Linked DNA regions of Homo sapiens: all the other regions are linked to region 1. The links are contacts of gene promoters, found by promoter capture Hi-C in blood cells and fetal thymus (Javierre and others, 2016). All regions are on one chromosome and are shown on one strand. Each heading gives the region's core, a stretch centred on a gene start or on the middle of the fragment in contact. The rest is flanking DNA. Distances are from core to core; before and after follow the strand shown.

What was found. Contacts are between HindIII fragments. The CHiCAGO score rates a contact against its expected background, and 5 or more counts as called.
Region 2: a contact is called between a fragment that was not itself captured here and the fragment with the promoter of MPC1 in region 1, in 1 of 17 cell types (naive CD8 T cells). The highest score is 5.5, in naive CD8 T cells.
Region 3: a contact is called between a fragment that was not itself captured here and the fragment with the promoter of MPC1 in region 1, in 1 of 17 cell types (fetal thymus). The highest score is 6.1, in fetal thymus.
Region 4: a fragment that was not itself captured here is called in contact with the fragment with the promoter of MPC1 in region 1 in 1 of 17 cell types (naive CD4 T cells); the score reaches 5.5 in naive CD4 T cells.
Region 5: a contact is called between a fragment that was not itself captured here and the fragment with the promoter of MPC1 in region 1, in 1 of 17 cell types (non-activated CD4 T cells). The highest score is 5.8, in non-activated CD4 T cells.

The regions. Positions count from the first base shown.
Region 1 is chr6:166,380,942-166,385,247 of GRCh38, reverse strand. It overlaps MPC1 (mitochondrial pyruvate carrier 1), which reads left to right and starts at 2,308. Exons shown (of 5, transcript NM_016098.4): 1 at 2,308-2,442. The coding sequence starts at 2,372. MPC1-DT (MPC1 divergent transcript) reads right to left here and starts at 2,070. Exons shown (of 1, transcript NR_189630.1): 1 at 1-2,070. RefSeq lists silencers at 1,636-2,375, 2,526-2,625 and an enhancer at 2,986-3,165. The HindIII fragment of the contact is 5,196 bases long and covers 1-3,394 here.
Region 2 is chr6:166,971,983-166,976,313 of GRCh38, reverse strand. It overlaps LOC105378120 (a long non-coding RNA gene), which reads left to right and starts at 1,402. Exons shown (of 5, transcript NR_188001.1): 1 at 1,402-1,912; 2 at 3,062-3,121; 3 at 3,526-3,575. The HindIII fragment of the contact is 5,838 bases long and covers 1-4,169 here.
Region 3 is chr6:167,011,972-167,016,036 of GRCh38, reverse strand. CEP43 (centrosomal protein 43) reads right to left here. Exons shown (of 13, transcript NM_007045.4): 7 at 2,470-2,529. Among named protein-coding and RNA genes, the nearest start is that of CEP43, 15 kb to the right of the region's middle. The HindIII fragment of the contact is 2,120 bases long and covers 1,435-3,554 here.
Region 4 is chr6:167,120,049-167,124,216 of GRCh38, reverse strand. CCR6 (C-C motif chemokine receptor 6) reads right to left here and starts at 1,121. Exons shown (of 3, transcript NM_031409.4): 1 at 994-1,121. The HindIII fragment of the contact is 5,763 bases long and covers 1-4,168 here.
Region 5 is chr6:167,087,224-167,091,538 of GRCh38, reverse strand. No RefSeq gene overlaps it. Among named protein-coding and RNA genes, the nearest start is that of CCR6, 34 kb to the left of the region's middle. The HindIII fragment of the contact is 3,042 bases long and covers 1-3,041 here.

The sequences.
Region 1 (4,306 bases), core at 1,059-3,558:
TGAAGCATGTTCATGTGGAACAGAACAACCTTCCTGGTGTTCAAGACTGCAATATTGTGTAATGAGATACACTTTCAGTGACGATCAAGGTCAGCTGTGACCAATAGAGACCACGATCCTAACAGAAAATGAACCCCACTCAATCAAGGGCTTACCATTTTCATTCTCAAAGGCATTTCTTCTTAACACCACTTATTTTGAATAGATAGCATAAGTAGACTGTACAAATTTCAAAAAGAACAAAGGAAGATACAATGAAAAGTCAGTGTCACTCTTGGTCATCCTTAGAGGCAGCCACTACTAACATTTCTCCAGTATCTTTGCAAACATGAATGTATATATTTTCTTTGTCCCTATGCACAATGAGTAGCATACTTTATACACTATTCAGAACCTGGGTTTTTTTCTTGAAAATAAAAAAGATATTTCATATCAGCACATAAAGAATTCCTTTATTCCTAATGGCTGTATACTAATCCACTAAACGGATGCACCATAATTTATTTAACTCTCTCCCTATGGGTAGATATGTAAACTCTAATCTTTCCATACTAAAAACAATGCTGTACACATGAAATTGCACAAACTGGCTTGTCTATCCTAGGAAATCTCTAGATGGGCTTGCTGGATCAAAGGGGATGTCCATTATTAACACTAATACACTGCGGGTCACTAATGTTGAGAATTCCTGTTCACCAAAGGCATTTCTTTTATTTTTTATTTTAGAGACAGGATCTCCCTCTGTTGCCCAGGCTGGAGTGCAATGGCACAATCTCGGATCACTACAACCTCCACCTCCCGGGTTCAACCGATTCTCACGCCTCAGCCTCCCGAGTAGCTGGGATCACAGGAGCGCATCACCACGCCTGGCTAATTTTTGTATTTTCAGTAGAGATGAGGTTTCACTATATTGGCCAGGCTGGTCTCAAACTCTTGACTTCAAGTGATCCACCTGCCTCAGCCTCCCAAAGTGCTGAGATTACAGGCGTGAGCCACCGCACCCGGCTACCAGAGGAATTTTGTTATATTTATTTGTTTTTTTTGGAGACAGGGTCTTGCTCTGTTGCCCAGGCTGGAATGCAATGGCGCAATCTTGGCTCATTGCAACTTCCGCCTCCCGGGTTCAAGCGATTCTTCTGTCTCAGCCTCCCAAGTAGCTGGGACTACAAGCACATGCCACCACGCCCAGCTAATTTTTTTATTTTTAGTAGAGAGGGGGTTTAACCGTATTGCCCAGGCTGGTCTCGAATTCCTGACCTCAGGTGATCCGCCCGCCTCGGCCTCCCAAAGTGCTGTGATTACAGGCGTCAGTCACCGCGCCCGGCCACCAGAGGCATTTTAAATGATCGTCCACATTAGAAACAAAACGAAACGAAACAACTTGGAAAAGTGAGCAAAAGCCTTCAATGTGTTCTTTTCTCTGCCTTTGTGATCCGAAAGTCGTGCTGCGGTTTATATACTCCTAGGCGAGGGTCGCGTGCTAATGATCCCTTTCTTTTCAATATGCACCCGCGGTGGGACTTACAGAACCTTTATTTTCAACACGTAAGCAGTCACGCTTCCTCGAGCCTAAGGCTTTGTGCTATTCTTAAATGCTTTCCTCCTCCGACGCTGCGGCTCCCTCCTGAGCCCGTAGCTGCAGCGCGTTGGTGAGGAGCGCCGGCCCTGGGTGCCGCCCGCCACCCTGGAGGGACCGGTCCGGGGGAAAGTGCTCGGGAGAAGCCAGGGGCCCCGGCTGCGGTCGCTGGCCCGGGGCTCTGCGCACTCCCCAGTGCCCGGAAACCGCAGGCTGGCCCAGCTTGCGGGCCGGGTCCGCCCACGTGGGTGTGGGAAGCGCAGGGGACGCGGGCCGCCCGGCCAAGGTGCCCTTGCCAGGAACCGGCGCAGACACAGGCCCTGGGCGGCGCGGGAACCCGGCCAGTCCCACCGCGCGCTGCGCCGCAGGGGCCCCACTGCAGGTCGCCCCAAGACCGCGCGACGCTCGGCAGGGCGCCCACAGTCCTGTGGGTCAGAGAAATGTCACCTCCACGTCCCCGCTGGCCGGGAGCCGCTGGAGCCTAGCAACCGCCTGCCAGCCCCGGCCCAGCCCCAGCCGTTTTACGGCAGCGGGCCCCGCCCCCGTGCGCCACCGAGGGCGGGAAGGAGGCGTGCGGCACGAGCCAGCCAGTCCGCGCCACCATCTCTGGCCCTGCGCCCTGTCATTGGCCGAGAGCCGGGCGGCGCGGCGCGGCCGTAAGGCGTGGCCGGGTGTCGTGAGGCGGGCCTTCGGGCTGGCTCGCCGTCGGCTGCCGGGGGGTTGGCCGGGGTGTCATTGGCTCTGGGAAGCGGCAGCAGAGGCAGGGACCACTCGGGGTCTGGTGTCGGCACAGCCATGGCGGGCGCGTTGGTGCGGAAAGCGGCGGACTATGTCCGAAGCAAGGATTTCCGGGACTACCTCATGAGGTGACGAGCGCCGCAGGCCGAACCCCGCAACCCGGAGGGGCTCCCGGGAGGCTGCGACCCGTGCAGTCCGCGACGAGGGCGGCCGCGAGGACGCGGTGGCCCCGGGCAGCGGGTGGGCCGGGGCCCAGGCGAGAGGGTGCGCTTGTCAGGGGGGCCCCACCCGGATCCCTCCCGGACCGCCACACCCCGAAGCGGACGGCGTAGAGAGCCGGTGACAGTGGGCGCCTTTCAGGGCGGGGGTGACAGTGGGCGCCCCTCAGGGCGGGGGTGACAGTGGGTGTCCTCTCCCGGCAGGGTGACAGTGGGCGCTCCTCAGGGCGGGGGTGACAGTGGGTGTCCTCTCCCGGCAGGGTGACAGTGGGCGCCCCTCAAGGCAGGGGTGACATTGAGTCCCCTTCAGGGAGTGGGTGACGGTGGGCGTCCCTCCTGGCCAAGGTGACACTGGGGACGCCTCTCCTGGTAGGCATAACAGTGGACGCCCTTCCCGGCCAGAGTGGCAGTGGGGACCTGGAGGGACGAAAGCGACGGCGCTCCTCAGGACAGGGTGACCATGGGGACGCCTCTCCCGGCAGGGGTGACAGTGGGCGCCCCTCAGGGCAGGGTGACCCGGCAGGGGTGACAGAGGCTCGTTCCTCTCCCATGGTTGGCAGTGGGCACGTCCCTCCGGGCCAGTTGACAGTGGCTCGCTCCTCCGGGCGGGAGTGGTTTCCTGGCCGGTTTCTACCAGATCCTCGGAGTGGGTCGCCGGTCACCTGCGGCCGTCCAGGTGTGCCAGAGGCGGCGACCTGGGTGTGGGGTGGGGAGACGCCAGCGGGAGGCGCTGCTGAGAGCGCGGCGCGGCGCTGTTGGAGCGGAGCTTCGGGTGCGCCCAGCGCGCTTCTGGGACAGCGGAAATAAAATGTGCTGGCCTTGGGTTCGCCTTTCGGTTTTCTCATTCTAAGGACTTTAAGCTTGGGAGGAAGTACAATTTAAGATGTTTTTATATACGAAATTCTGTCAACCAAAGTAAAGTGACGTGTCTCTAAGGTCATACTTTTTCTTCTTGTTCTATTTTCTGTTAACTCCTCCTTTCCAGTTAGAAACAAAGAGCATTCGCGGTTGGAAAGCCTGAAAATACACTTTCTATAATTTATTTGCACCTCTCATCTTGGGGCGCTTGCTTTTATTTCAAAATATTGAATATAACTTTGAAGCAGTTTTAGGTTATTTAGGAGTGTAATTTTAGTTAGTTTTTCAGTGTATGATTTTAAAACCTAGGTACGTGTACAGCTGCGGTTTTTTTTCGGTAGTTAATAGTGTGGTCAAGAGGTAAAGAGATGAAAGCTGAGGAGGAATAAATCCTGTTATAACCACACAAAAGGGATAGTATGAAGGCAACTTGATTTTAGCAATAAAAAAGTTTTAAATCCTGAATTTTATTGCAAATACTGTTTACTTCTACTTTTATAGAGCAGTAGGGTAGGAAAAATAATTCAGTCTGCCATATGGTAAACTTGTAAACAGAAGCTTCACTTCTGACTTTCAAAAAAAGACATTTCTATGCTTAAATAGAACTACTATTAATTAAGATGGGTGTTTAGCACTGTGGAGCACAGCAATGTATCAGATTAATGGTAGTAAAAATGTGAACAAGGTAGCAGTCTGAGGGTATGCTCTCAATCCTTGCTGTTAAGTTTCTCTACAGCTTTGAATATTACTTTAGCTTTTTACTAATGTGTTGGATACTGAGCCTTCCTAATAGGTACAGCTAAGGATAACATTGTGTGGTAAAATTAAAAATACAGTTATGACACCTAGCTATATAAAAATTATGCTGATAATTACTTAACCGTTTTCTTTTCTTTTTTTTTTTTTTTTTTTTTTT
Region 2 (4,331 bases), core at 1-2,500, 590 kb before region 1:
GCTTGCTCCAGAACCCAAGGCTAGTAAGGGGCAAAGCTGGGTCTAGAACTTCAACTTTCTCTTTTTCTACTCCACGATATGACTGACATTTAGGTTTGCACACAGCAGCGTTACATCTATGGGTTCTTATTTAATAATGATAAATAATTTTTTTTTCTTTTTTTTTGAGATGGAGTCTCGCTCTGTCGCCCAGGCTGGAGTGCAGTGGCGCGATCTCGGCTCACTACAAGCTCCGCCTCCCAGGTTCACGCCACTCTCCTGCCTCAGCCTCCCAAGTAGCTGGGACTACAGGCACGCCCAGCTATTTTTTGTATTGTTAACAGCGACGGGGTTTCACTGTGTTAGCCAGCATGGTCTCGACCTCCTGACCTCGTGATCCGCCCATCGTGGCCTCCCAAAGTGCTGGGATTACAGGCGTGAGCCACCGCGCCCGGCCAATAAATAATTTATTATTTTGTTGACCTAAAAGAAGGAACTGAGGCACAAAATATACTTTGGTTTTATTTTATTTATTTATTTATTTTGAGACGGAGTTTTTGCTCTGTTGCCCAGGCTGGAGTACAATGGCGCAATCTCGCCTCACTGCAACCTTCACCTCCTGGGTTCAAGCAATTCTCCTGCCTCAGCCTCCCAAGTAGCTGGGATTACAGGCTCCCGCCACCATGCCCGGCTAATTTTTGTATTTTTCAGTAGAGACGGGGTTTCACCATGTTGGTCTTGAACTGTTGACCCCAGGTGATCCACCCACCTTAGCCTCCCAAAGTGCTAGGACACCCAGCCACAAAATATAATTTTAAGGAGTTTATGCAGTCATAAAGAAGAACAAGATCATGTCTTTTGCTGGAACATGGATGGAGCTGGAGGCGATTATCCTTAGCAAACTGACACAGGAACAGAAAACCAAATACCACATGTTCTCACTTGTAAGTGCGAGCTAAATGATAAGAAATCATGAACAACATAGGTTGGAAACAAGACACTGGGGTCTACTTGATGGGGGAGGGTGGGAGGAGGGAGAGGAGCAGAAAGGATAACTATTGGGTACTGGGCTTAGTACCTGCGTGATGAAAAAATCTGTACGACAAGGACCCCGTGATGCAAGTTTCCCTTCACATGTACCCCAAACCTAAAATAACAGTTAAAAAAAAGTTTACTTGAGCCAAGTTGAGAGGACAGCCACCTGGAAGACTCAGACCCAGGTCACCTTGGATATGAGCTCTGTTAGGCCTTTGACAGAAGCAGGTTTTCCAAAGCAATAAGAGGGACAGGGAGTGGGCTGATACAGCTGTTTGTCAGGAATTCCCATTGGTTAGACAAATAAGATTGATTAGTGATTGACTATACATTGGTGAACTGTGGGGTATGGAGTATGGTGTCCAGTGAGTGGCCTTGCTTGGTTAGTTGATAGCTGCTTGTGGCAGCAGCTGGTCTAGAGCCCACATAGCAAGCAGCTTCAAGAGCTGATTACTTAGCTCAAGGCGGGTGGTGGGATGGACTGCTGCCTCACTCTCATGCCTCTGTGGGTCTATAATTTATAGCAGGCTTGCATTCCTCAGATAAAGTTTCTTTTCTTTCTCAATTTCTATACAGAGATCCCTCAAGTTGCAGGAAATATGGACAGGTACTCAGGCCTTTTGATTTCCAGCACACAAGTTTCTATACCCTTGCCAACAGTTAGCTGCCTGATCTTTTCTAAAAGGGCTCAATGAATGCAAACGTCAAACTTCTCTTTGCAGCTAGATCCAAATGATCACCCTGCATTAGTCTGTTCTCACACTGCTCTAAAGAAATACCTGGCTAATTTATTAAAAAAAGAGTTTTTTGTTTGTTTGTTTTTAGGCTCACTGCAAACTCCGCCTCCCGGGTTCAAGTGATTCTCCTGCCTCAGCTTCTCCAGTAGCTGGAACTACAGGTGCCCACCACCACACCCGGCTAATTTTTGTATTTTTAGTAGAAACAGGGTTTCACCATGTTGGCCAGGCTGGTTTCAAACCCCTGACCTCGTGATCCACCCTCCACGGCCTCCCAAAGTGCTGGGATTACAGGCGTGAGCCACCGCGCCTGGCAAGAAAAGAGGTTTAATTGGCTCACGATTCTGTAGGCTGTACAGGAAGCATAGCAGCTTCTGCTTCTCCGGAGGTCTCAGGAAACTTTCAATCATGGTGGAAGGCAGAGGGGAAGCAGGCATCTTACATGGCTGGAGCAGAAGGAAGAGAGAGAAGGGGAAGGTGTTCCACACTTTTCAAACAAGCAGATCTCATGAGAACTCACTTTACAGTACCGAGGGGGGATGCTGTTAAGGTGTTCATGAGAACTCCGCGCCGTGATCCAATCACCTCCCACCAGGCCCCATCTCCAATACTGGGGATTCCAATTCCCCATGAGATTTGGTCGGGGTACACAGATCCAAACTGAAGCAGAAAAATAGGGTCTGGAAGCAGGGAACATAAGGCCGATTCACACTTCAGCTATTACAGGAAATATCCTCTCCACAGGGTGCACACCGAGTAAAAGACTGTGTATCTTTACTTCATCCTCTTCATTTACACAGGGTGCACCCAAAGTAACCAATGGAATATAACCTCTAGAGGGTATCTAAACTCCCAGAAATTCTGTAACGGGGCCTTAGAGCCCCTCTGTTCAGCCCTGCTCCCACACTGTGGAGTGTACTTTCATTTTCTTTTCTTTTTTTTCTTTTTTTTGAGACAGAGTCTTGCCCTGTCACCCAGGCTGGAGTACAGTGGTCTGATCTCGGCTCACTGCAACCTCTGCCTCCCAGGTTCAAGCAATTCTCTGCCTCAGCCTCCCGAATAGTTGGGATTACAGGCGCCCGCCATCTCACCCAGCTAATTTTTGTATTTTTAGTAGACACGGGGTTTCACCATCTTGGCCAGTCTGGTCTTGAACTCCTGACATCAGGGTGATCCACCCACCTCGGCCTCCCAAAGTGCTGGGATTACAGGCTTGAGCCACTGCGCCCAGCTGTGTACTTTGATTTTCAATAAATCCCTTCATTCCTTCCTTATTTTGTTTGTGCCTTTTGTCTAATTCTTTGTTCAAGACACCAAGAAACTGGACACCCTCCACCGGTAACATATTTTGGCGAGCCAGCCAGGAGAAGGTAGGCCCAAAGTTTGGGATTTATTTTTCTCCTTTCCCCTTTTACATACAGGGAGATTTTTCTCTGTCTGTCTGTTCCTTTCCACCTCGGGACCCTTGGTGGGAAGCGCAGAAACATGGAAGCAACTGCAGGTTTCTGGCTGTGACCAGTGAAATAAGGGGTTTCCATGTGGAGGTGCCTAACCACCACCACCCTATTCACTTAAGGGACCTGAGTGTTTTTCTTTTTTCTTTTCCTTTGTTTGTTTTTCAGTCTTTTAGCGGCTGTTTCCTAGTAGCTTCTTGGAAATTGAGGGCAATTCGCTGGGGTCACTCCCTGGTATCGCCTGAAGGCCAAAGAGTGAATGGGAATAATTGCCCTACCCAGAAGGGGGAATGACTCTTTTTTTTTTTTATCTTTTCCAGGTGTGGTCCCTGATCCCTACGGTGGTGGTGGTAACTCACACTTGTTTCAGGTGACTTAAACCTTTTCTTATGCTAAGTTTTTTGCTTGTCCTATTCAACTATCTAAGGACAAAAAAGCCCACCCAGCATCCAGTTCCTATGTATCATTACAGTTCAGGGCTATCCTTATCAAGCTCATAGCTCATAGGAGGCTCTGGAGGGAAAACATGCAGAGAAAGGTCAGAGACGTCTGACACTCTTTTGGACCCCATAGGGGGACGCCCTGAGGATCCTCCGAATCTCAACCTCTCCAAAGGGGGTGCTCTCGGCAGAGGTTTTGAGGTCTAGTACTAAGCCCCCCTTAGAATTTTCTCTCCGGTTTGCAATACTGTTTAGCCCCAGTATAGTTTGGAATCTGGAGTTTCCTGTTGAATGGGAAAGTGGGATGGCATTGCATGTATCCAGCCTTTGTTGCTGCTGTTCTAAGCAGGGGGCCTGGTTAACATGTGACATGCTCCTTGGGTGCTGTTTGGCCCCAGTGTTCTTTGGAATCTGGAGAGGTTTGGTCTTGAAAAATCAAGCTCCATGGAGACTGCTTTACCTGAAATTTTGGTTCACAGCCTTTGTTGGATTATCTATTGAGACAAAGTAAATGCCAACAAGCTTGTATTGCTATCTCACAGCTAAGGTTCCAAGCTGTTGGTTCTTCGTTTATGTGTGGGTCTACATGTCTAGATGTGTTTATTTGTATGTACACCTATTGTAATACATTGTGTCTACCAAATTGGCTTACAAGTAAAAGAGCACTCATAAATAAAGTAAATAAG
Region 3 (4,065 bases), core at 1,245-3,744, 630 kb before region 1:
TGGAATACAATGAGATAAATTATCACAGATGATACTTTGGAAGTCAGCAAGTATTAATATATATTTCAAAATTATTAATTCATTTTTAAAATGCCCTCTCATTTCATATTTATACTCCTTGTATACCAAATCTTTTATCTTTAATCTTTATTTTATTTTTATCTTTATTGTCTCTTAGCAACAACAAAAATAAGAACTTCAGTTTTGCCCAAGTTACATCAGTTCAAAAACCCTACAAATCAATTCTAACTATACATATGAATGTTTTTTTAAGTTTATTTATAATATGAATATAGCTTCCCTGAAGAAAGTGCCAAGGGTCTCTGAGTGAGCCACTAGTACTTGTCGCCTCCTGCATTCGAAAGCAACCGGACACATGCGACACTCCTGATCAGTGCTCCAGAGCTCCGGGAGCAGCGGTACCCTAGGCCCTCCTGCATCGCATGCCCAGTTCACGTCTGCAGGACAGGCAGGGCTCCCATGATGGCTTTGCATACCTTGGGAGATGCCACTCACCTACCATGCGGATGGCTCCATCTGGAGTCTTGCTGTGTACAACCTCAACCACCACATGCAACATAGCATCTGGATGATGAAGATGTTGAGAATGTTAAGGCTGTTGGGAACTCACTGCATGCACAAGGCAAAGCAGAAAGGCAGGGGAACAAAGAGCTAAGGGCTTACCCATATAAGTAAGGCTGGCAATAGGCCACATGGGGTACAATACAGACTTCTCACAAGGCAGTTCAGAAACAAGATCAGAAATGTACAGGGAAAAAGGTTTCCAAGTAATTGAGGAAGCATCCTGGCCTCAGGAACACAACAATGAAATAGAAGAGACCCAAATTATGGACTAAATCCTGGGATATGGGCCCACCTAGATTCTTCAATCCCCTCTCAAGTCAGGGCACACACTACACTCTGCCCAAAGTACCGCGAAAGCTAAAGTCTGGGCCCATCACAGTTATTTCACATCACACAAAGTGAAAACCACATCTCTTAGGATGCCTTGGCTCTATGTATAAACTTCTTGAAAATGTTTAAGTTGTTTGAAACCCACAATAGCAGTAAGATTATAAAAGCTTAATACTATAAAATATGCTTTTAAATTTTAGAAAAGCCCAAGAAACTGATTTTTAAAATCTATTAAGAAGTTTTATATCTTACTTAAGGTATGTCTCATCTCTCCAATTAAACTATAAACTCCTTAAGTGAGAACTGTGTTAAATGTGTTGCCCAAAGCATTAACACACAATAACTTTCACTATGTAAATGTTAAAAAAAACTTACTAAATCATTATTTTAAAGCAACTTCTTGTTTAATAACGCATAAAGAACAGTGTGAACAGAAAGAGAATACAGTAATAGGAATTTACCTTTGAAACTCCTAGAACTAAAGCCATCTAACACAACAGGTGGAATTTTTAAAAAGCTTTAAGTTTGAAGATTTTCAACCTAGTGAAAAAATCTATACATAACCAAAGTTCAGCATAGGACTAATGAATCTCACAGAACTGAAAATTAAATATTTTGTCTTATCCTAAGTACATGTAAAAACTGTACTGATAATGTTTCTAAAACTTCTAATATTTAAATTTCATAAGCAGCTAATCTACTGGATTAGTCAATTTTTGTGATCTTTAGGAGAGGATGAAAAAGCAGCCAAGGCCTTGGTAGTATGCAGCACTGGCCCCCAGCAGTCTACTGTGAGCAGGGGCACTGAATAAAGGATCACAAATGTGCAATTGTCTGAAAAATGACAGAACACAAAAACATCTTGGAGGAAATACGTTTAATTTTTAATTTATCAATAGGTACGTATTCAAAAAAATAGTTTGATGTTCTATTTTCCTCAAATAAAAATCACAATGTTACTAATATGTATATAATCATCCATTCAAAAGAAAAATACGTATTTTCAACTCTAATTGCCAACACAACAGGAATTTTCAAAGTAAAACTGAGAGCATGGTTTTAAGATTCAACAGTATGATTTTCACCTGGATAAAAACTGACAGTGAAATTTACTTTTTATTTCATGCCATCGTTACTTTTTTGTTTTTTTAGACAGAGTCTCACTCTGTCACCCATGCTGGAGTGCAATGGCACGATTTCAGCTCACTGCAACCTCCGCTTCCCGGGTTAAAGCGATTCTCCTGCCTCAGCCTCCCAAGTAGCTGGGATTACAGGCGCACACCACCACGGCCGGCTAATTTTTGTATTTTAGTAGAGGCGGGGTTTCACCATGTTGGCCAGGATGGTCTCGAACTCCTGACCTCAAGTGATCCGCCCGCCTTGGACTCCCAAAGTGCTGGGATTACAGGCGTGAGCCACCTAGCCCAGCCTCAAGTGACATTTCATAAGAAAACTGAGAACCCAATCTGACAGGAGCCCAGCGCTCCAGGAGGCCCCAGAGTCGAGACCTGATGCCCACAGGCTGCTTTTCTCCTCTGCCCTCATGCATGTTACCTTGTCACCAGCCTTCTGCCCGCTTGTCTTCTTCTTACCTTGTCCTTTATACCTTGGTATCTGAGCATGAGAATAAAATGAGATTTTACCACAAAATAGAAATCTTTAAAAAATAAACTAACTCATTACCAAACAAAGATACCTACTGAAAAATGTCTCAGAAGTGGAACATCTAGTTAATATGTTCTGTGAGGCCTGCTTTTTTTGGTCCTTTCTTAACTATTCCTAGAGTGATCTACCTCATGTTTACTGTTTCCAATAGTTACTAGGTCAAACACAGATACCTTAGCCTCCACCTGCTCAGCTTCTACTGGGTGGAGAATCAGCTCTTTCATGCTACATTTTAGCAGCATTCTAAATAAGCCTCACTTGAGTTCCTAGGCAACTTCCTTGAAGACTTGTCCTGACCTCATCTGACCTTTCTCAGGAGCACACAAAGCTGGTTCCTAAAGGTTGGGTGGACCCTACTCTTGGAGAGTTTCTAGCATTCTCCGTGGGCCCTCAAGGCTGATTTGGTAGGAGGTAGCTAGCAAGAAGACGGTAGGGAAAGTACTGGATCCCAAATCCAGGTCCTTTAGTACTAGAGAAATTGCATTTTAAGTGCCAAAATAAGGGTTTATTTTAGAACAGATGCAACCCTACACAAGGACTATCTAGGGTATTTCTGAAGTGGGTTTATGAGGCCAACTGAGAAACGGAGACTAAACTAGAATAACGGGATGACGGCAGAGACAGCTGTTAGGACAAACGCTATTCTCTAAAGCAGCCTCAGGACAGTCCCCCCTTCTCTGGAAAAACTCACAGCATCATTTCCTGACTGACTTAAAACATTGAGATTCTCATTATAATTCTTAGATCTTAAAATGTATGTAGGGAGAATAAGAGTACGTAAAATAGACTTTAATATTTTACCCTGAAGACATACATTATATATAGGTTAGGATTGCTAATTTGCTTTAAAAACAGTAATAATTTGCTAAAAAGAGCTTCCAAATAGTCAAATGCTATAGGTACTGATAAGTATTTTGGAATATTCATTAATTTTAATTTTTCTAAAGCCAGGTATTTTCATGAAAAGTAAAGCTTACTTACATAGGCTGTTTTATTTGCAATTAATTTAAAGAAATTTTAAAAATTTACTCATGACCTTACTCTATCACTGGGGTTATAGCCTCCTATGAGTATTTAGGAAAAAAAAAATTTTAAAAAAAGGCCTTCCCTACACCAACTAGAAATCTCAGAAGGAGCAACTATAAACAATACAATAGTTGTTTCTTTGGTTAGAAATGAAGTATAAAATTCCTTAGTTTTCCAAACTTAAACAATAAAAAGGAGCAACAACATCAAAGAACAAGCAAAAAATAACAGCAATCGTTCAGCAATGTTCTGTGCCTAGACATTTAAAAAAGAAAGGTATCGTGTAGTATAATCACTACGTCCTGGAAGTTCATCTATTTAAAAAGATGCAACTGTATCTGAGAGTCGATCCACCACCATAAACCCACATGGGACCTCATCTTTTGGAATGGACTCCACAGCATCACTCTATTCCTATGGGATGAAAATCAAAGGGACAGTCAAAGAATACAAACCCGA
Region 4 (4,168 bases), core at 1,558-4,057, 740 kb before region 1:
TTGCAGAAATTACATCTTTAACCATTTAAAGAATAGCTTTAGTTATGGCCTTGCATTTTTGTTTTTCTTTATAAAGCTGATCTCTACAATATCTATGTCCTGCTGCTAAGTGGACTTTGGAGCTGATCTCCGGCTGGAGTGCAGTAGCGTGATCTCGGCTCACTGCAACCTCCGCCTCCCAAGTTCCAGTGATTCTCCTGCCTCAGCCTCCCAAGTAGCTGGGATTACAGGCACATGCCACAATGCCTGGCTAATTTTTGTATTTTTAGTAGAGACGGGATTTTACCATGTTGGCCAGGCTGGTCTCGAACTCCTGACCTCAGCTGATACACCCAGCTTGGTCTCCCAAAGTGCTGAGATTACAGGTATGAGCCACTGCACCTAGCCTGGCTCCCTTTAATATCATTGTGTATTATTTTCTGGTCATAAGATACTGCCTTCATAATCACAGTGGCATTGGCAGCCCTCATGAGAGCTTTGCAACTGAGACTTGTTGAAATTTCCACCTTGTCAATTTCTCTTAACTCCCCCTCACAAGCTCCTTCCTGCTCAATCTTAGGCTGTCCGGGATGCCCACTCATCAGCCTTCATTGCATAAATGACTTACTGCCTCCAAAATATTTCTTAGCTTAATTTTTTTGTTTTCCAAAATCTTTCAGTGTATTTGATCAAATAAAGAATCACATTCCTCTCCAGACTGATGCCCTGAGGATATCTCCTGTATGAGGAGCAAGTACCCAGACCATCACCGAAGCTCCAGTGCAGGGAGCGAGTATGAAATCCCTTACTATACACTTAGAGGAAAAGTGGGCTTCCTAAAACCATAAAGTCAATGCTTTCAGGAAAGGAAGTCTGTGTCGTTAAGCATAAACATGGTCAATATGCCAGCATTCTGGAAGATTAATGAGTAAAACAGTCCCATTCCTGTCAGACTAGGGGATCAAAGAAGTTACATTTTTGAAAGAAAAGTCTCAGGGGCCTTGGCATGCTCACCTCAGGCAGTGCTCTGATCCACTCCCTTCAGCCTCACTCCGGGCCCCACAATCTGATGACTCCAGCTCACCAATGTGATGACCATCTGTCAATAAGATGCAGCTTCTAGCAGTCATTAAGAAAAAAGCGGTGAGCTACTAGAATTGCCCAAAAGCAAGTTCTGGATTGCCACTTCCTATTGAAAAGTAACGCCTATTTGCCCAAATGCAAATGGTTAACCATGTATATCCTGTAGGGTATTGAGTAATCGTAGGATCCCTGGAATCAAAGTCCAACCAATGGTAAAGTGATAAGAAAAAGAGAGGCATTGAACTCCCCAGAGGAAGACAGCCTTTGCATGGTTTTCAATTTGCAGCAATGAGTTTGTACCCAAACTTTCATACTCCTTTACCTGGTTATCTCCTGGGAGCAAGGAGTCTCTGCAAGCCGACTGGGAAGATTTGGGAACGTTTGCAAGAGGCCGTGTGAGTTAAAGACATGGGCCGGGAGCACTTTTGTGTGGAGTCAGTCAGTCCTGGCCCCACCCCGAAAGCTGTGCAGCCACAGAAGGGCCACTGAGCCCCAGCAAGCCTCGGTTTCCTCTTTCAGAAGAAAGACCATGACAGCTCTAACCTCAGAGGGTTCCGAGAAATAGCCATGCCCGTCCACGGAAGCCGAGGAGCAGCGCCTGAAGGAGAGGTGGTTCTCCATGCATCTCAGCTATTATTACAAGATACTTTGAGAGCAACAGAGGAGCTCCTCAATCAAAAGCGGGCACCTAATCTTCATGTGGCACAGAGACAGAATCTCTGGGTGACGATGCGGGTCACTGCCCTGTCTTTAGACATATCAAGGAAAGCAGCTGACGACAAGTCACTCAGAAATTTATTTGTAGATGCAAGTGCTTAAAAAATAGAAAAGAACCCTAGAATCACAAGGCTGTTCGCACCTGGGTTGCTGTGAACCACGTCTCAGGAAATAACAAAAGTTTTACAGACAATAGGTTCGTGATCAATTCTCAGCCAGCCTGATGGACTCACACTTTCTCCACTTCCCAGTGCACTGTGCCTCCCCACCCCCAGGCTGCCCACGAGGCTCCACTGCCCGCTGCCCAGCTCTGCTCTATCTTGACCACACCTCACCTGGGTCGCTCCTTCCTGCAGAGCCCTGAGCTCCACGTCCTCACGCCTGAGTGAGCCTGAGAAGCTGGAGCGCACCCCTTATCATCTCTCTGGGGAACCAGCTAGACACAGCAGGACCTGTGTCCTGCTCAACCCCACTGGCCATTTTCCCGGGTTTGTCCAGGGTCCCCTCCAAAGACTCTGCTGGCCCCAGTGGCTCCCCCTTACTGGATAAAAGAAGGGCCTTTTCTGTTTGAAGTGCTTGCAGACCTATGGTCACGGGGTCCTCTTGCTGCCATCATTCCTCTCCCTGCCTTACAACAATCCTTCCAAACAAAGCCTCTCCTGACTAAGTCCTGGCTGTTTTCCTCTAACAGAGCTCACAACTTCCTTCACTCTGGGTGACCTGTCCCTCCTCCATCTGAGAGAAGCCCTGGGGCGCTCCTCCCCAGTAGTTCACCCCAACCCGAAACCTGCTGATTATTGGATGGCGAACAAAGCAAGACCCTCCCCTCTGCTCTTACGACCCCTCCCCTGCTACCTCAGCTCCATCCCCTCCTCCTCATTTCTACCATCGCCCCTGAGGCTTCTGCTTCCTGTAGAAGGGCTGCCCATAGGAGGAAGAAACAGGCCACCAGGTAACACACCCCTCCTGCGTTCTCAGGTGCCCTCTAACACTGCCCTTGGATGGTCTTGCTTAGCGTGAAGGTAAGAAAGTAAGCCCTTTTATAGATGATTAGCCCTGGCAATGCCTGCCTGGAAAGAAAAGAAAGAAAACGAAAAACAGATTGGACTTTGCTGGGGACCAAAAATGAACATTAATTAAGCAGAAATGTAACGTGTTGAACAAAACCGCGTTGTGTGGCCACGCAGATGCTGAGGGACCCAGGAGGCCCAATGACACCCCCTTCCTTGCAGAACAAAGAGATTCATGGCCACTGTGGGGGCCCCTTCTGTTAGACTGCACAGAGGCAGGGATCTGGAGGTCTCCAAGAGTGGCCTCCTCCCTGCAACACCCTCCCTGCCCCAGAGGGGAAGGTAGTGGATGGAGATTGAGACCCTGCTGCTGACTGGCTCCCAGCCTGGGCTGGTTGCCTTTACTTCGAGAGCTGAGGTGGAAGCTCCATATGGCACTGACCTCTGCAATGTTTCTCATGTCCTTTGCCCCATATTCCTTCTGTAGTTCCAAGTCAAATCTAAATTATATGTCACCCTGAGAAAGCTGAGACCTATTTGGTTTTTAGCTCTCTAAAAATGCCCCTATATTAAAGATCCTCTTAGATCTCACTCTTATTGAAACTTCCTCAAATTTAAAATCACACTGTTCATTTGCATAGACACTGTGAGGTGCATAAAAGGCGAGGAATGTGGCTTACAGTCACATGTTTCATAACAATAAGTTTCCAGGCAGAAAATTCCACAGCAACATCAGAAGTTCATTCCTAAGAAAAGCCAGGGACAGTTTGGTAAATTCAGATAACAGTCATAAGGAGTTGCTTTAAAACTCAACATTGAGGCATTTCTAGGAAAGCCATCTGCCTCTGGCTACAATCCTACAGAGGACACTGTGTACAGCTCAGAATGGGTCACCATGACCGTTTCTCCTTGTGATTGCCTTTAATTCACAAACAGGCTCTGCACACACTGGAGGCCATAGCACACACACTGGAGGCCATGGCACACCACTTTGTGGACATTGGTCATCTGGGTGTCAGTCATCTTTTGAAATTATCAGCAAAGTTGAAAAGATAGTAAATGCTTTGTTAACCCCTAAAGTAACACTCTGTATAAACTTTGAGGAAGTCAATATGGTGAGCTGGTTGGGAATTCTTGCTGAGATACCAGGCAGCAGCAGTGCACCACCTGCCGGCCACATGTGGGAGTCCCCCAGCCCAATCGAGCCTTCGGATGACATGGCTCCCACCCACTCTCTGATGGTACCTGCAGTGGAGGCCCCAACTGAGAAGCACTCAGCCGAGCCCAGTTGACCCCCAGAGCCACAAGAGATTGTAAATAAATCACTGTTAAAGCCACCATGACTCAAGGTGGTAGATAACTGGGGCAGTTTTCTACTC
Region 5 (4,315 bases), core at 271-2,770, 710 kb before region 1:
ATCTCATTTTTTGCAACAATCTTTAGACCTGATCTTCGATCAGCCTTTAGCTGATGTATAGATAGGGTGAGGTTGCCACAATCTGGGGTAGATCAGCTTTGTGACTTGTCATCTAAAAAGGGGAAGAGGTTTAACTTGAAAGAGAAAAAAAAAACAGTAGACGACCTTTATGTGGAACAGTTACGCGAAGCCTCATCGGTGGCCAGGCAACTTCCTTTCCAACTTCTTCTTACTCGGGACCCTCTGCCCATGTTTACATCTTGCCAAAGACCATGGAAACTGGTAAACATCTTGCCAAATAAAGCTGTTTAGACTGACTGAACATGCAAAGACGCCCTCTGTCCCTTGGACAACTACAGGTCAGGGAAATGAATGGAAGTCACATGAGACTCTACTCTTTCAAATTCCCTTTTAAAGTGGAAATTCCCTCGCTTGGTTATAGTATTAAAGGGAACAAGCCTAAGAAGTGGAATTACAGGAAAAATGGGCACGTGAGGATATGAGAGTATAGATGGTGTACGCTCATAGATGGTACAGAGTAGATGGGCATCATTTGGATAGAGAAACACAAAACACTCTTTGCTGAACTTGAAGATGATATTGCTGGTTAAGAGCACAGACTTGGGAATTATATCAGCATTTGAATCTCGACTCTTGACCCTACTACTTCCTAATGGGGTGATGTGTGTAAAGTTGTTAATCTTTCTGAGCCCTACCTGCCTCATGTGTGGTATATAGAGATGCAGGCACCTCAAAGGCCTGAGTCTGACACACAGTGGATGGCGAAAATTGGAGAGCTGGAGGAGGAGAGGCACATAGGTCATGCCTAAGTCATGAGAACATACAAACAACAAAATCAACAATAGAAATCTAGCTTCACTTGATTGATCCAGCTTGTCGGAAGATTGCTAAGAGATTCCACTCAACAACTAAACCGCCGTTCCACACTATGATTGCTGACTTGAGGCTGGTAACACCTTTTGGGAACGCTGTCTTGGGAACGTTCACAGGAAAATTGCTCCTTTGGGTACAAGGTTTTGAGATACAATCTCTGGGTCAATGAGTACTTTACATACAGGAACCCCAAAATGGAGGAAGTAGGCTATGGAGGAACAAGAAAAGAAGGGAAAAACAAAGCAGCCACAGAGGCGAGGTGGCTGCTCCCCTTCCTGCCACCTGGAGGAAGTTGGAGGCTAGTTCTGGAGACATCACAGTTTCTATTACTTTGGTTACTTGGCAGAGCCTAAAAACTTCCTCTTGTGTGGAAGAAAGAAAATCCTTTCTGTGTTGCTCCCTGGAGGGAAGAAAACCAGGCTGACTCTTGCTTCCATTTGAGGAGCTCAAAGGAAGCCATTTCCCACGATGGTCCCCCAGGCACAATCCTGCATGGAGCCCAGCCCTGGCCCACAGCTCCTTGACTACAATCCCCTTGACCCATTCATCACCCTTGCCACTGGCCCTATTCTTTGTGACTTGGCTCAACACTGGTGACTTCTTCTGCTGCCCTATTCACCTCCAGTCTGAGACTCAGGAGCATGTGGCCACCTGCTGCCACAGAGATGCCACACACATGGCCCAACGCCAACGGGGTCGCTTAAAATACATTGCTGATCTGTGGCCTATGTCTGGAGGAAAGGGGCCGGTGGGGTCCTACAGTGACCCGAGAGGCTCCTATTCTGAACCACAGAGAGCACCACACCAAGAGGCTGGTGTGATATGCTGCTGGGCCCACAGTTTTCATGGGCCCCATGTGCCTGGAGTGAAAGGTCTTTAGATCAATCAAAGAGATCCAGTGTCTGGGGAGTTCTTGTTTCTTCACACTGACCACTTCAATAACGCAAGGACGGGGATTTTCTTGGCTTTGACCAAGGCTGCAGTCTCTCCAGAGCTGAAAACTCAAGTTACTTCTGCCTGGTTCTGGCCTCCCCTGACTCGGCTCTGCCATTAACCAGTAAAACTAGTATCTCCTGTTCTAGAGGGAGGTCGTCATCCTGGTAGAGGGCCATGTGTAAGGATCTGCACCCCTCTGTTTAATTCTCCAGGAAGGTCACTGCAGCTGAGGTCAACTTCCTCCCCAGAGAAGCAAAACCTGTTGGCTGCAGAGGCTGCTTGTTAAACAGAGAGGCGTTACCTCCAGGAGATGTGTGACATCAGACTTTTCAGGGATAGTGCCCAGAAAGCTCAGAAACTTTGCTTAACAAACTCTTCCAGGTGATTCTGATATTAGCTAAATCTGAAAACCACAGAATTAAATGATGTTAGTTTTTTTCCCTCGAAATTTAAGTTTCATACTGACCCTTGAACTACTTATACTGAAAACATTTCAAACATTGATAGTTCATTGATACTAGCAACTGATCTGAAATTATTACTTTGCCTAAAAAAAACTGACAATTTCAGAATATTATCATTCCTTAGTAGTTTGCATTTATGACATTAGATAGTTCCAACTCCTTCCTCCACTTTGTGCAAATGATTTCATGTATCTTATTTCTACATCTGTCATAAACCCTGTTTACTATTTTTAATTTAGTTAACAATTTTTTTTTTTTTTTTGAGACAGGGTCTCACTCTGTTGCTCAGGCTGGAGTGCAGTGGTGCAGTCATGCCTGACTGCAACCTCACCCTCCTGGGCTCAACCTCCTTGCCTCAGCCTCCTGAGTAGCTGGGACTACAGGCATACACCACCATGCCCAGCTAATTTTTGTATTATTTGTAGAGACAGGGTTTCACCATGTTGCCCAGACTTGTCTCAAACTCCTAAACCCAAGCCATCTGCCCATCTCAGGCTCCCAAAGTGCTGGGATTACAGGCATGAGCCACTGCACCTGGCCACCATAGTTGACAGTCTTTTAAAGAATCAGCCATGAGAAAATGTTTTTAATATCCACTTTTACTATTTCTGGTGCTCACTTCTCTGTGTAACCCCAAATTTTTATCTGGTATAATTTTCCTATAGCCTAAAGAACTACCTTTAACATTTATTGTAGCACAAGTCTCTCAGCAGTGAGTTATCTTAGTTTTTCAGGGTCTAAAAAGCTTTTATTTTTGCCTTTAATTTAAAACAATATTTTAATGGATCTGTAATAGAATAATAGAATTCTGGATTAATTGTTTCAGTACTTTAAGATGTCAGTTCATTAACATCCAGCTTACATGTCTGACAAGAAATCTATTACAATTATCTTTCTTCTTGGGTATGTAATGTCCCCCACAACTCCCAAATGCATTCTACATTTTCTCCTTATCTTTGGTTTTAAAAAGTTTGATTTTATGTGTCTAGGTGGGGTTTTTTTTTTTTTTGGTATGGAGATTTTTTATTTGTTTTTGTATTTATACTGTTGGGATTCCCTGAGCTTCTTGGACCTGAGGTTTGCTGTCTTGCATTATATTTGCAAATTATCTCTTTAAATATTTCTTCTGTTTTATTCCTTGCTGTTTGTTTGCTTGTTCTGGGACTCCAACTGCATGTACATTAGATGATCTCACAGCTCTTGGAGGCCTTGTTAGACAGAGTTTTTCCCTCTATTTTATGTTTTTTTTTTTGTTGTTTTTTTTTTTTTTTTTTTTCTGAGACAAGAGTGTCACTCTGTCGCCAAGGCTAGAGTGTAGTGGTGTAATCTTGGCTCACTGCAACCTCCGCTTCCTGGGTTCAAGCAATTCTCCTGCCTCAGCCTCCCGAGTAGCTGGGACTGCAGGCATATGCCCCCACACCAGGCTAATTTTTGTATTTTTAGTAGAGATGGGGTTTCACTGTGTTGTCCAGGCGGGTCTTGAACTCCTGACCTTGTGATCCACCTGTCTTGGCCTCCTGAAGTGCTGGGATTACAGGCATAAGCCACTGTGCCCAGCCCATTTTATGTTATTTGTGTGTCATTTTATATGATTCCTGTTGACCTATCTTCAAGTTCCTTAATCTTTCTTCAGCTGAGACTAGTTCACTGATAAGCTTTCTGAAGGAATTCTTTATGTCTTATATATTTTTTGTAGCATTCCCACATGTCTTTTATACTCTCTATCTCTCTGCTGAAATTTCCCATCTGTTCATGTATGCCATATGCCTTTTCCTCTAGATCATTTAACAAATTCTTCAGGGCTTTTTTGTATTGTTTTGTTTTTGTTTTTGTTTTGTTTTGAGATGGAGTTTTTGTTCTTGTCGCTCAGGCTGGAGTGCAATGGTGCAATCTTGGCTCACTGCAACCTCTGCCTTCTGGGTTCAAGCAATTCTCCTGCCTCAACCTCCCTAGTAGCTGGGACTATAGGCACCCAGCACCACGCCTGGCTAATTTTTGTCTTTTTAGTAGAGATGGGGTTT